Regions from separate parts of the Homo sapiens genome. Here all the other regions are linked to region 3. The links are contacts of gene promoters, found by promoter capture Hi-C in human tissues and cell types (Jung and others, 2019). All regions are on one chromosome and are shown on one strand. Each heading gives the region's core, a stretch centred on a gene start or on the middle of the fragment in contact. The rest is flanking DNA. Distances are from core to core; before and after follow the strand shown.

The links. Contacts are between HindIII fragments. The study calls those that stand out against the background at their distance.
Region 1: a fragment that was not itself captured here is called in contact with the fragment with the promoter of ZNF622 in region 3 in 1 of the 25 tissues and cell types used here (dorsolateral prefrontal cortex).
Region 2: a fragment that was not itself captured here is called in contact with the fragment with the promoter of ZNF622 in region 3 in 1 of the 25 tissues and cell types used here (lymphoblastoid cells).

What each region holds. Positions count from the first base shown.
Region 1 is chr5:17,256,536-17,260,360 of GRCh38, reverse strand. The region is part of intron 1 of BASP1 (brain abundant membrane attached signal protein 1); the gene reads right to left. Among named protein-coding and RNA genes, the nearest start is that of BASP1, 41 kb to the right of the region's middle. The HindIII fragment of the contact is 4,658 bases long and covers 1-3,707 here.
Region 2 is chr5:17,294,023-17,298,133 of GRCh38, reverse strand. No RefSeq gene overlaps it. Among named protein-coding and RNA genes, the nearest start is that of BASP1, 78 kb to the right of the region's middle. The HindIII fragment of the contact is 3,402 bases long and covers 456-3,857 here.
Region 3 is chr5:16,463,861-16,467,726 of GRCh38, reverse strand. ZNF622 (zinc finger protein 622) reads left to right here and starts at 1,927. Exons shown (of 6, transcript NM_033414.3): 1 at 1,927-2,686. The coding sequence starts at 2,062. RefSeq lists enhancers at 88-177, 208-267, 2,550-2,619 and a silencer at 520-742. The HindIII fragment of the contact is 5,798 bases long and covers 1-3,866 here.

The DNA.
Region 1 (3,825 bases), core at 129-2,628, 790 kb before region 3:
TTTAACCATAAAACCCTGACTTGATAATGCTTCTATAAAGGTGGCAGATAATAGTTAAGCTTCTCCTTGAATGTAAAGGTTGACTGTATAGACACTAATGCAGAAGGTTTTTTCTTCTTTTTTAATACATCCTGCCACATGTAGCAAACACTATCAGGAAACATGCATTATTCATTCTCGTCAATAGTCTAATATGCTTTTTAGAGTCTGCTGTGTGTTCACATTGTTATTTATTTGCACTTAACGGGTGGTCCTTTCAAAAGCCCCAGTTATTGCAGCCTAACATATGATTTTACATGAATCACCTGCTCTTTTGGTCAATAAAGGGAGTAAGTGAACCACAACCCGCTCAGGAAATGCAAACTGCAGAGATCATTTCTGTACCATTTCTCTCTTCCATAGACCAGGAAACTAATAGATCATATCACCACAACTAATTTAGAATTCTCCAAACAGAGCTCAAAATAAGGCACAAGGAAAACACTTAGAGCAGCTGAGATATTTCTGCTGCTTCTTAATGGACTAGACAGACCATGATGGGCTTGGAGCCATGACAGGCTCGATCAATGTGGCCACCTGACAAAGACAGGCTGGTGATTAGGGAGAAGAGGGGAAGCCTGCCTACTCCAGAAATAACTGCAATTTATTTCCAGTAGTTCCTGTCTCCAAAAATAAAGGGCTGGTTCACACTTTTCACGACCACCTAAAATTCTTACATATTGACATTTTCATGTATCAATTTTTTTTGGCACCAACAGCAAATGTAGTATTTTCAGTCCTAATGCTATTTCATATTTTAATGATTTTCAGTGAAAACCATCTAAAATCCTTTATGTATGTCCTTGACATACTAAACAAAGAATTTGCTTTTTCCTTTGTCATGTTCAGCACTAACAGGGGTTTGGTAAATGTTTGCCAAATTAATAAAAGAATGTATTCAATCCAAAGATGAATACTATGCTGATATGGTTTGGCTGTGTCCCCACCCAAATCTCATCTTGAATTGTAACTCCCACAATTCCCGTGTGTACTGGGAGGAACCCCGTGGGAGGTGATTAAATTATGGGGGCAGGTCTTTCCTGCACTGTTTTTGTGGTGGTGAATGAGTCTCACGAGAGTTGATGGTTTTAAAAACAGGAGTTTCCCTGCACAAGTTCTCTTTTTGCCTGCCACCATCCATGTAAGACATGACTTGCTCATCCTTGCCTTTCACCTTCCCCCATGATTGTGAGGCCTCCCTAGCCATGTGGAACTATAAGTCCAATAAACCTCTTTCTTTTGTAAATTGCCCAGTCTCGGGTTTATCTTTATCAGCAGCATGAAAATGGACTAATACATATGCAGTGTGCCATTTCCAGATTCTACTGCCATGTTGAGTTCAAACAGCATAGTGTGACTTTCAATGACATTTGTCATCTGGTCCCTCCTTATAAATTCAAATGTATCTCCCCAGATTTCTCAAGCAAATGCTTCACCCCAAATTGTCCATGCTCACTTTCTGCTCCACACTTTTGCCTTCTTCAAATTTGAGCCCTTTAGCTACCTAAAAAACCAGGCACTGAGCCACAAGGCAACACCCAAGGTGTGAATCCCAGAGGGCTGTGACATTTAAAAACATAACAGAGGGTATTTGTCCCCAGCCATGGAATTCCAGAGACGATGCATTTCATCCCCAGACTTGGGGATGAAACACAAACTAGAATTCAATACCAACTGCCCCTTACTCATGATGTGACTCAGAACAAAGTCACTTCAACCTCTTATTTGCCAATGTTTCTGTATAACGTGTCTAATATTGGGAGTGAAATTTATGTAAACAGGAATCATCTGAGAAGCTTGTTAAAAATATAGGTGGGGGGAGTGTTATCTCTTTCCCAAGATAATTAATTAGTGGGCTCAGCATGAGTCCCAAGAATCTATTTTCTACCAAGTTGACCAGGTAACACCAAAACAAGTAGTGCAGGGGCTGCATGTTGAGAAATACATATACATAGCATTTGCAGTGACTTTGAAAACTAATGCTTTTGCATCATCTGTAAAACCTGAAACATGAAAATCCCAAAGACCAATGTGATTACTGCTGGTTACAAAGCTAAAAACAAGCACAGCAGAAAACCTAGCCAGGTCTAACCGAGAAGTGAGTGTGCACAGAACAGGTGGTGTCGGCCCCAGTGAAATCTCATCAGCTATAGAGATATACTGCCTTTGAGTTCTCTTTGCTACCAGAGCCACAAATAAATTAGAATGACCCAGACCTACTCTCCCTATCAGAATTTCCCCAGCAGCCAACTGCCGTCTTGTTAGTACCACAGTTTAGCCAGAGGAGGCAAGATATAAGCAGCCTGTATGGAAAAGCAAGAGCAGTGTGAGCAATTTCAAGAACCCCTGATGATAACACCAGGCCCTGGGCAGTCCCCTTGCTACCCCAGATGCTCCTGTCACTGGCAGGGGAAACACAGGAACGGTGCTGTTTGGCTCTGTAAGCTCCTTTCTTACACAACATGAAGCTTCCATTGTTCAAGGTTTATAGCCTGCCCTGTGAGACAATACTGTTTTCAGAAGCCTCCATTTTATGTAATTAAAGTTCACATTTCAGAAAACAGGTTTTCCTCTTTTAGTTCAAGCGGAACTTTGATGGCTTGCCAATAAGTTTTGGATCTCAATCCAATATACTCTGTGAAAAAAAGCACATAGGCAAGGGGATGAGAGACCACGTTCAGCTATGTGACCTGGGGCAGGGAGTCAGCCTCAGTGAACTCAACCTTTGCCTACAGAAGAAAATAGAAGGGGAGGTGGTTGTTAGCATTAAATGGAATATTTGCAGTAAAGGATATAGTTCAGCTCACTACACACAGTAGGTATTCAGTACATTTTACCTTCATTTACCTAAAACCATTTCCCAGCTCCATTCATGTAGAATAGAGAATAACTCTGAATTTCAAGATTAAGTAAAAGATCGGTGGGACCAATTACTGTATTCAACACAGGTAAACAATAGGAATTGATTCAATTATAACAAAAAGAATCACTCTTTTTGTTTTGTTTTTTAATCACTCTTTTTAATATTTAAATTCTAGGTTATAGCCTGCAATATCTGTTATATAATCTGTAGATTCTAAGAGCAAGTAAATGTTAATAAATCTCACAATGATAAAAACAGCCTCCTCACACTGGTAAAAGATGAATGCCATCCAGGAATACAAATGCCTGCATCCAGTATATACAGAAAAATGTCTCCAAGAAACTATCAAAAGGGAGAATGAGCCTCAAAATGTGTTCTAAGTCCCAGGAGAGACTCTATTTAAAGCAACCTCAGCAGATAGTGTCTTTTCCAAACTATTTCCATCTTACTGGCTTTAGGTTAGGTAGAAAGGTTGTGATAAAGGACCATGTGCCATATTCTGTTTCACCCAGTTCACTTGTTTGGGGTTCAGTTAAATTATCAGGAAACCTTTTCCCTAGAAATATTTTTTTTTCCACCCACAGCTATAAAATCCTATATTCAAACACAAAGTAAAGCAAAGAATTACTGGAGATCCTTCCTCAACCTTAGCATGCAATTAAGGCCACAAGTCAGCCACCAGTATTTTTTTCCTATAGGCTTAGAGAATCACTCTCCTTAGAAAAGCAGCCAATATCATTCATTGTACTTGATTTTTAAAACTTGAATTTTTAAACGATTTCTGTTCAACTTGGGATTCAGTCTCGTTACAGCCACTAAACTAGCTGCTGACATTAAACAAGCCACTGTTAACCTCCCAGGGTTGGTTATTTCATTTGTAATATAAATGACTAGAATTGTATCCTTTATGTCTATAATTTTTA
Region 2 (4,111 bases), core at 907-3,406, 830 kb before region 3:
GCTTGAACCCAGGAAGGGGAGGTTGCAGTGAGCCAAGATCGCACCATTGCACTTCAGCCTGGGTAACACAGCGAGACTCTGTCTCGAAATAAAATAAAATAAAATAGAAAGAAAAAAGAAAACAGCAGCGTAAAAACATTTGGATGCTACCAAATATCCATTTCAGATTGAGACTTCCATGGAGTGAAAAAATAAATAAAAATAAAAATGTGAGCAGCACTTTCCAAGGGCCTGGCACGATTAACCCCATTTATCCTCACAAGAACCCCGTGAGGTAGGTATTGTTAGCATTCCCATTTTACAGGTGGGTCTGAAAGTAAGTGACTTAGCTAGGATTTAGCTCTGGATAGACTCAGACCTGGACTTCAAACCCAGTGAGTGAACCCTCTGAGTCTGTTATCAACCACTATGCCATCTGCTTACCTGGTACCCATGAGCAACAGAAACAAATCATTACTTTTTAATCTGGTGATGGGGCTTTTTGTAAGGAATTAAAATGTTAAAATATGACATATGGAATTATATTGGTCAGTATGAAAGAAACAGAACCAATAGAAGATATATAAACATATATAGGATAGATGATTGATAGATAATAGATGGATAGATCCTATTGTTTGTATATATATATATATATATATATACACACACACACACAATAGGACATACATATATATATACACACATAATGTATATATATATACACACATAATGTATATATATATACACACACACGATAGGACATATATATATACAGTCATGCACTGCATAACAATGTTCCAGTTAACTGTGCACATACAATAATTAACTGCATATACAATGGTGGGCTCATCAGATTGTAATAAAGCACATATAGAAATCTGATATTTGGCACTTGACATTGGCATTGCAAATCAAGTAGGGGAATTGACTGATATTCAGTAATGGTGCTGAGACATCCGGTTTTCCAAGTAAAAATATAAATATATATGTATATATATACTCACACAACAACAAAATTCCCTAAAAATGCAATTCTGACAATGTATCTCCATCATTAAGTGATGCATGACTCTATTTACATATAGATATAGATACAAAAGCACAGAGAACGAGAGAGAGATTTATTCTAGAAATTGGCCAAGAAGTCCCATGATCCATTGTCTGCAAGTTGGAGAACCAAGAAAGCCAGTGGCATAATTCAGTCCAAGTCCAAATGCCTAAGAACCAGAAGACCCAAATCCAAAGGCAAGAGAAGATGGATGTATAGCCCAAACAGAAGCAAACTCATCCTTCGTCTCTGCCTTTTTGCTCTATCCAGCTCCTCAATGGATTGGATGGTGCCCACTCACATTGGGGAGGGACATCTTCTTTGCTCAGTTCACCAATTCACATGCTAACCTCTTCCAGAAACACCACCACAGACACACCCAGAAATAATGTTCTACCAGATATCTGGGCCTCCCTTAGCCCATTCCAGTTGACACATAAAATTAACCATCTCAGGTCATTTTCCTAAGAACACTTCTGGCCTTTTCTTAAAGGCTTTATATTTTATATTCAGGTCAGTTTATCTCCTCTGTGATATCAGCCCAAGGAGTAGGTATTTAGGACAAGCCTTACCATCTGGCAAAAAAGACAATCATCTTTGCAGTGGGGCTGGAGGATGTCCACTTCCCAGAAAGATCTCTCTCATCCAACAATTACACTGCCTAAAATTTCACCACCAGAAAACTTGTAGGGATGGTCACATGTTCACAGTGTATTGTAAATTTGCCTTCAAATTGATTTCTCCCATCCCAATTATTCCACAGAAAAGGGCACCAGGATAATGAGACGTAAAGCATCATCAAATGAAAGATGATGTTTTAATCACCTCCTCTTCATACTGTTGACAGAAGAAGGATTCCCACCTGAGAGTTATGGGAATGGTCATAACTTTTTTTTTAAGGAACTAAAAAGTGTCTAAAATGCCAAAAATATTTTTGTAAAATGAACTGTGAATGCCCAATGATAGTTTCATGACTATATCTGTATTTCACAAAAGAATCCTTTTTTCCTCACAGAGAGTTAACATAGCCTATGGTCAAACACAGGTACTCTATGATCATTTCTGGAGATGTTTAATGGTGTGTGAAGAAGACAAGCTCAGCCACCGTGCCCAGTCTCCCAAAACTTTCAATAACATCTTCATCTCAAAATTTTAGGACACAGTTCTTCTAATGAGTGACAGCATCACTGAACACCAGAAGCATCAAGGAACATCTGCTCCCCCGCACCCGTGGCTCATCTCAGGATGTTGTCAGGCAGAGTCAGACACACTACAGTGGGAAGATCAGACTGGGAGAGTTGAGCTCCAAAACAGAACTGCACCTTAAAGAGGGGGCATCTCAGAGCACCCTGACTCCTGCCAGCTCAAGGACAGAGCCAAGTCTGGCAGTGAAACCCTTTTTTCAGAGAATTTGGCAAATTTCTTCCAGTCCAAACAAATGGCCCCAATTTTAGGATGTGTAAGATGGAATAACAGGCCAGGTACAGTGGCTCATGCCTGTAATCCCAGTAGTTTGGGAGGCTGAGGAGGGCGGATCACAAGGTCAGGAAGTGGAGACCATCCTGGCCAACATGGTAAAACCCCGTCTCTACTAAAATACAAAAAATTAGCCAGGCATGGTGGTGCATGTCTGCAGTCCCAGCTACTCGGGAGGCTGAGGCTGGAGAATTGCTTGAACCCAGGAGGCGGAGGTTGCACTGAGCAGAGATCATGCCACTGCACTCCAGCCTGGGCGACAGAGCAAGACTCTGCAGGAGGCTGAGGCAGGAGAATGGTGTGAACCCGGGAAGTAGAGGTTGCAGTGAGCTGAGAGGTTGCACTCCAGCCTGGGCTACAGAGCGAGACTCCGTCTCAAAAAGAAAAAAAGAAAAAAAAATGGAATAACAATTACAGAATCATCTATACAGGTAAAGGGGACAGGAGATCCAGGAAGAGGGGAAATTCAGAGATTCCTCCACAGGGGCAGCCTCTGCAGAGAATTTGGGAAACCTGTGTAGGCTGCTGGCTGGGCTTCTGTCACTGGCAACGGGTTGAAGCTTCCTAATCTAGAAGACTGAGAAGATCTCAGTGAGGCCTGCATTTTGGAGGAGCATGGTTTGGGAGAGCTTATGTTCTGGAATATGATTCTGATCCTCCTACCCTAAGTGGGGTGTAAGGGTGGACTGTGCCTCAGGACTAAGGCCACAGTCTCATAATTTTTTTTTTTTTTAGAAAGGGTCTCACTGTATTGCCCAGGCTGGAGTGTAGTGGCAAGATCTCGGCTCACTGCAACCTCCGCCTCCAAGGTTCAAGTGATTCTCCTGCCTCAGCCCCCCGAGTAACTGGTACTACAGGCATACACCACCATGCCCAGTGCATTTTTTGTAGAGATGGGGTTTTGCCATGTTGCCCAGGCCAGTCTCAAACTTTGAGCTCAAGCAAAACACCCACCTCGGCCTCCCAAAGTACTGGGATTACAGGCGTGAGCCACCGCACCCGGCCCACCATGCCATTATTAACTTCAATGTTGAACTAGGGCTTCCTAGGTCCTCAAACTCTCTGAGATCAAGAATGATCCTCTATCCTGGGGGCAAAGATGAATCTTTATGTGAGAACAAAGTGCTCCCAGAGGCAGATACAGCAGGATTCACAGGATGAGAACTGAGCAGGGGCTGTCTGTGCAATGGACAGTGACAGTTCCATCTTCCCATTCTTACATGGAGCCACATCCTTGTGAGGTCCAGTAATCCAAACTTCTATATCTAAATCAGTGGGTTCTGCTCTGAATCTGGGTTATTCTTCAAGGGCAGGGATTATATTAGAATTTATTCTCTTTGAAAATATAACTCTTTTCAAAGTGATGAAGATTCGTGCATACCCCAGCATTCTGTAAGTTCTCCCTTAGGAGCAAATAAAAGTTGTGCAGCCTTAATTTAAGCCTATTTCTATTTCAGTCCTATGTGAATAGAGGGAGACAGAGGGAATTATCAACCATTCTTTGGGAAAAAGAAAACAACTCTAAAAGTACCTAAAGATACAAAAGCTGTCATTTAGCTTTCTTTTTGGAGGCAAGTAATATCCATTCAACATTTCACCACTTAA
Region 3 (3,866 bases), core at 678-3,177:
CCTACTTGTCAAGGAACCAAAACCTCTTGCTATCAGCTATGTAAATGAACCATCTTTAAGGGAGACTCTCCAGCCACAGTCAAATACAGTCAGATCTTCAGATGATTTTAGCCCTGGACAGCATGTTCACTGCAACCTCTTAGGAGATCTTAGTCAGAACCACCCAGCTGAGTCACTCAAATACCTGACATACAGAAACTGAAATAAAGCTTGATGCTAAATTTGGGGGTAATTTAATACAGAGTAGTAGATAACTAATACAGTACTGGAGAAAAGTTATGCCTGGTAAGGACTTAGGAAGGTAGGCACTATTTTTGGTAAGTGGATTTGGATAAGCCTCTCTTACAAAGGCATTTGGGCAGAGATCCAAAAAATAAGGAAGCAAGCCAGCAAAAGGATGTTCCAAGCAGAAGAGTAATGGATTTCTGACTTTCTGACTTAGTACCAACTAAAGTGCTTGTTAGAAGAACATCAAATGTGTCATTGCGACTCAAGTAGGGTGAGCAGGGTAGAGAAGGGGGTGTGGCAGGACCTCAGAGGGAGGGGTAGAGCCTCGGAGAATAGAAAGTAAGGTGTTTGAATTTGATTGAGTCAAGGGAAGGCACTGGAAGGTTTTTTAAAGCGCCATCTTCTTTTGGTTTTCTCTTGGCAGCCTGGATTCTGAGCATGCAACATTCGACTCTAACAAGGCTGACTCTGGTTCAACCAGGCTGTGTGGATGAAATCTACGACCTCCCCAAGCATTTGAAGTTCATGTTTTCTTTTTCTTTTGAGATGGAATCTTGCTCTGTTGCCCAGGCTGGAGTGCAGTGGCGCGATCTCGGCTCACCACAACCTCCGCCTCCCGGGTTCAAGCGATTCTCCTGCCTCAACCTCCCAAGTAGCTGGGATTACAGGTCTGCGCCACTGCGCCGGGACTAATTTTTGTATTTTTTAGCAGAGACTGGGTTTCGCCATGTTGGCCAGGCTGGTCTTGAACCCCTGACCTCAGATGATCCGCCCGCCTCGGCCTCGCAAAGTGCTGGGATTACGGGCGTGAGCCACCGCGCCTGGCCTGAAGTTCTTTTCTACAGAACTTTGCTGTCCTATATACATGAGGGTACACAGCCAACTGGGCACCTGGCACGGGTCTAGTCCAAATTGAGATGGGCTGTTAACTCTAAAACACACACTGGATTTCCAAGACTTAGAACCAACGACAGAGCGTAAAAGATCTAATTAATTCTTTTAGACTGATTACATGCTGAAATGACAGGATGGGCTAAATTAAACACATTAAAAGCAGTTTCACCGATTTCTCTTTACTCTTTAAAAATGTGGCTGCTATTAGAATTACCTACGTGGCTTGGACTGTGTGTCTACAGGGAGCTCCTCTCGCGCACTCTGTGCACTCAAATTCCGCCGGTGTCCTCCGCCGGAAGGGCCGCCTCAGAAAGGCCGAGCCCCCGGCCTGGCTTCTCCGGTTTCCCGGGAAAGCGTTGCAACCACGGGCGAGGGCTCCGAGGTCGGCCCCGAGGGGTAAGGGCAGCCCTTGCCTTCGCGACATCCATTCACCCGGCTCCGCAGGTGCAGCGCGCGGTCCTCAGAGAAACCCCGACCCTCGCGTCGCTGACCCGACCATTCATTAATCGGGGGCTTCCCAGGGCCCAGGAGCAGCCTCGGGCGCCCCACTCCCCCATTCTCGCGTAGCCGTCCCCTTGACCGCGTCACACCGAGCGGCACAACCACCAGGGAAGGTAACTGGGAGGGCGCGACCTCCCTCAATCAACAGCCACCTCGGGCTGACTGAGCGGACCCAGGTCCCTTTCAGCCACAGCGTTCCCTCGGCTTCCTGGGCCTCACGGCGGCGGAGGCGTGGCCACAGCCTGAGAGGCGGGTTTCCTGTCCAGTTGTGAATAACTTCCGACGTGTGCCGGAAGTTTCCTCAGTGACAATCAGGAAGTCGGCGTGTCGAGTGGCTCTTCCTGGCTGCTGAGGCGGGTTAAGGTCTGAGGGTCTTGTGGGGCCACGGCGCTGATCACCAGGTGTTTGGCTTGGTCGGTTCTTATTTCTCGCCTGGCAATGGCGACGTACACCTGCATAACTTGCCGGGTGGCGTTCCGCGACGCGGACATGCAGCGGGCCCACTATAAGACGGACTGGCACCGCTACAACCTGCGGCGGAAGGTGGCCAGCATGGCCCCAGTGACCGCCGAGGGCTTCCAGGAGCGAGTGCGGGCGCAGCGGGCCGTCGCGGAGGAGGAGAGCAAGGGCTCGGCCACCTACTGCACCGTTTGCAGTAAGAAGTTTGCCTCTTTCAACGCCTACGAGAACCACCTCAAGTCCCGGCGTCACGTTGAGCTGGAGAAGAAGGCCGTGCAGGCAGTGAATCGGAAAGTGGAGATGATGAATGAAAAGAACTTGGAGAAAGGACTGGGCGTGGACAGTGTGGACAAGGATGCCATGAACGCGGCCATCCAGCAGGCCATCAAGGCCCAGCCGTCCATGTCTCCCAAGAAGGCGCCCCCAGCGCCTGCAAAGGAGGCCAGGAATGTCGTGGCCGTGGGTACTGGTGGCCGTGGGACCCACGACCGAGACCCGAGTGAGAAACCACCCCGGCTCCAGTGGTTTGAACAGCAGGCGAAGAAGTTGGCAAAGCAGCAGGAGGAGGACAGCGAGGAGGAGGAAGAGGACCTGGATGGAGACGGTGATGGCCCTGTCTGGGCGGGGAGGGTAAAGAGGAACTTGGCCCACCCTTAAGTTTCCAGATTTATACTCGAGATGGGTGTGTGTGTGTGTTTGAGAGCTTTTAAGTAAAAATGATGAGGGAAGGTGGTTTAGACGCTTTCTGAAGTGCCTTATCTGGCCAGCAGGTTTGGCTGTTTAGTTCACTCAATTCATTCTCCAAGGCCTAAAACCTTGTCTGGAAAAAGAAGTGCTTAATGCATATTTGGAGAATGAATTGATGCCTTCTGTGTTTTGGATGAAGAGGCTTTTAACATATGCACAGGAGGACATGCTATCGTCATACCAGCTGCCGTGTAATTTGCGATTCTAGTGGGTTTCCAGTTATGATGGTTTTGCACTTAATTTAGTTGAGTAAAACAGAATGAGGGGATCAAAACCAACTCAGCCAGAAATTTGGAGCTGGAGCCAGCACCCTCACCTCTTTGCCTTTATGAGCTATTTATTCCTTACTTCCCTCATCCCACATCCTATTAACAGTGCTGGTGTAGGTGTTCATGTCTTAGTCTGTCCACTCTGCTATAAGGAAGTACTAGAGACTGGGTGATTTATGAACAACATAAATGTATTTTCCCATAGTTCTGGAAATTGGGAAGTCCAAAATCAAGGTGCTGGCAGAGTCAGTGTCTGGTGAGGGCCTGTTCTATAGATGAAGTTTTCTCATGGTGTCATCATGTGGTGGAAGAAGCAGAAGGCAAAAAAGGGGCTAGCCAGTTCCCTCGCACTAATCCATTTATTCAGGATTAGTGCTTGCCTAACCTAATCACCCACTAAAGGCCCCACCTCTTAATGCCATTTCATTGATGATTAAGTTTCAACATTTGAATTTTGGGAGGGAAACATGCATTCAAACCATAGCCGTTCATAGAGCACCCTACCAGCACATACACACACCCCATAGTACTTTTGTGAAATAGTAGATAGAGGCATTGTTTTAGAAGTTTATAAAAATATCCAGGCAGGTAGGAGACTTCCTAACTATATTTTCAGCACTGGGCTAGGTGCTGTAAGGCATAGGAAAGAAACAAAGAAAAGATTCCTGTTTCCTGGAAAAGAAAGACTAAGGAGTTTCATGGCCATTCAGATGAGTCTGTGGTAAACAAATAGCTAAAATTGAGATCTTGAAAGAGGAGTTGTCCTTG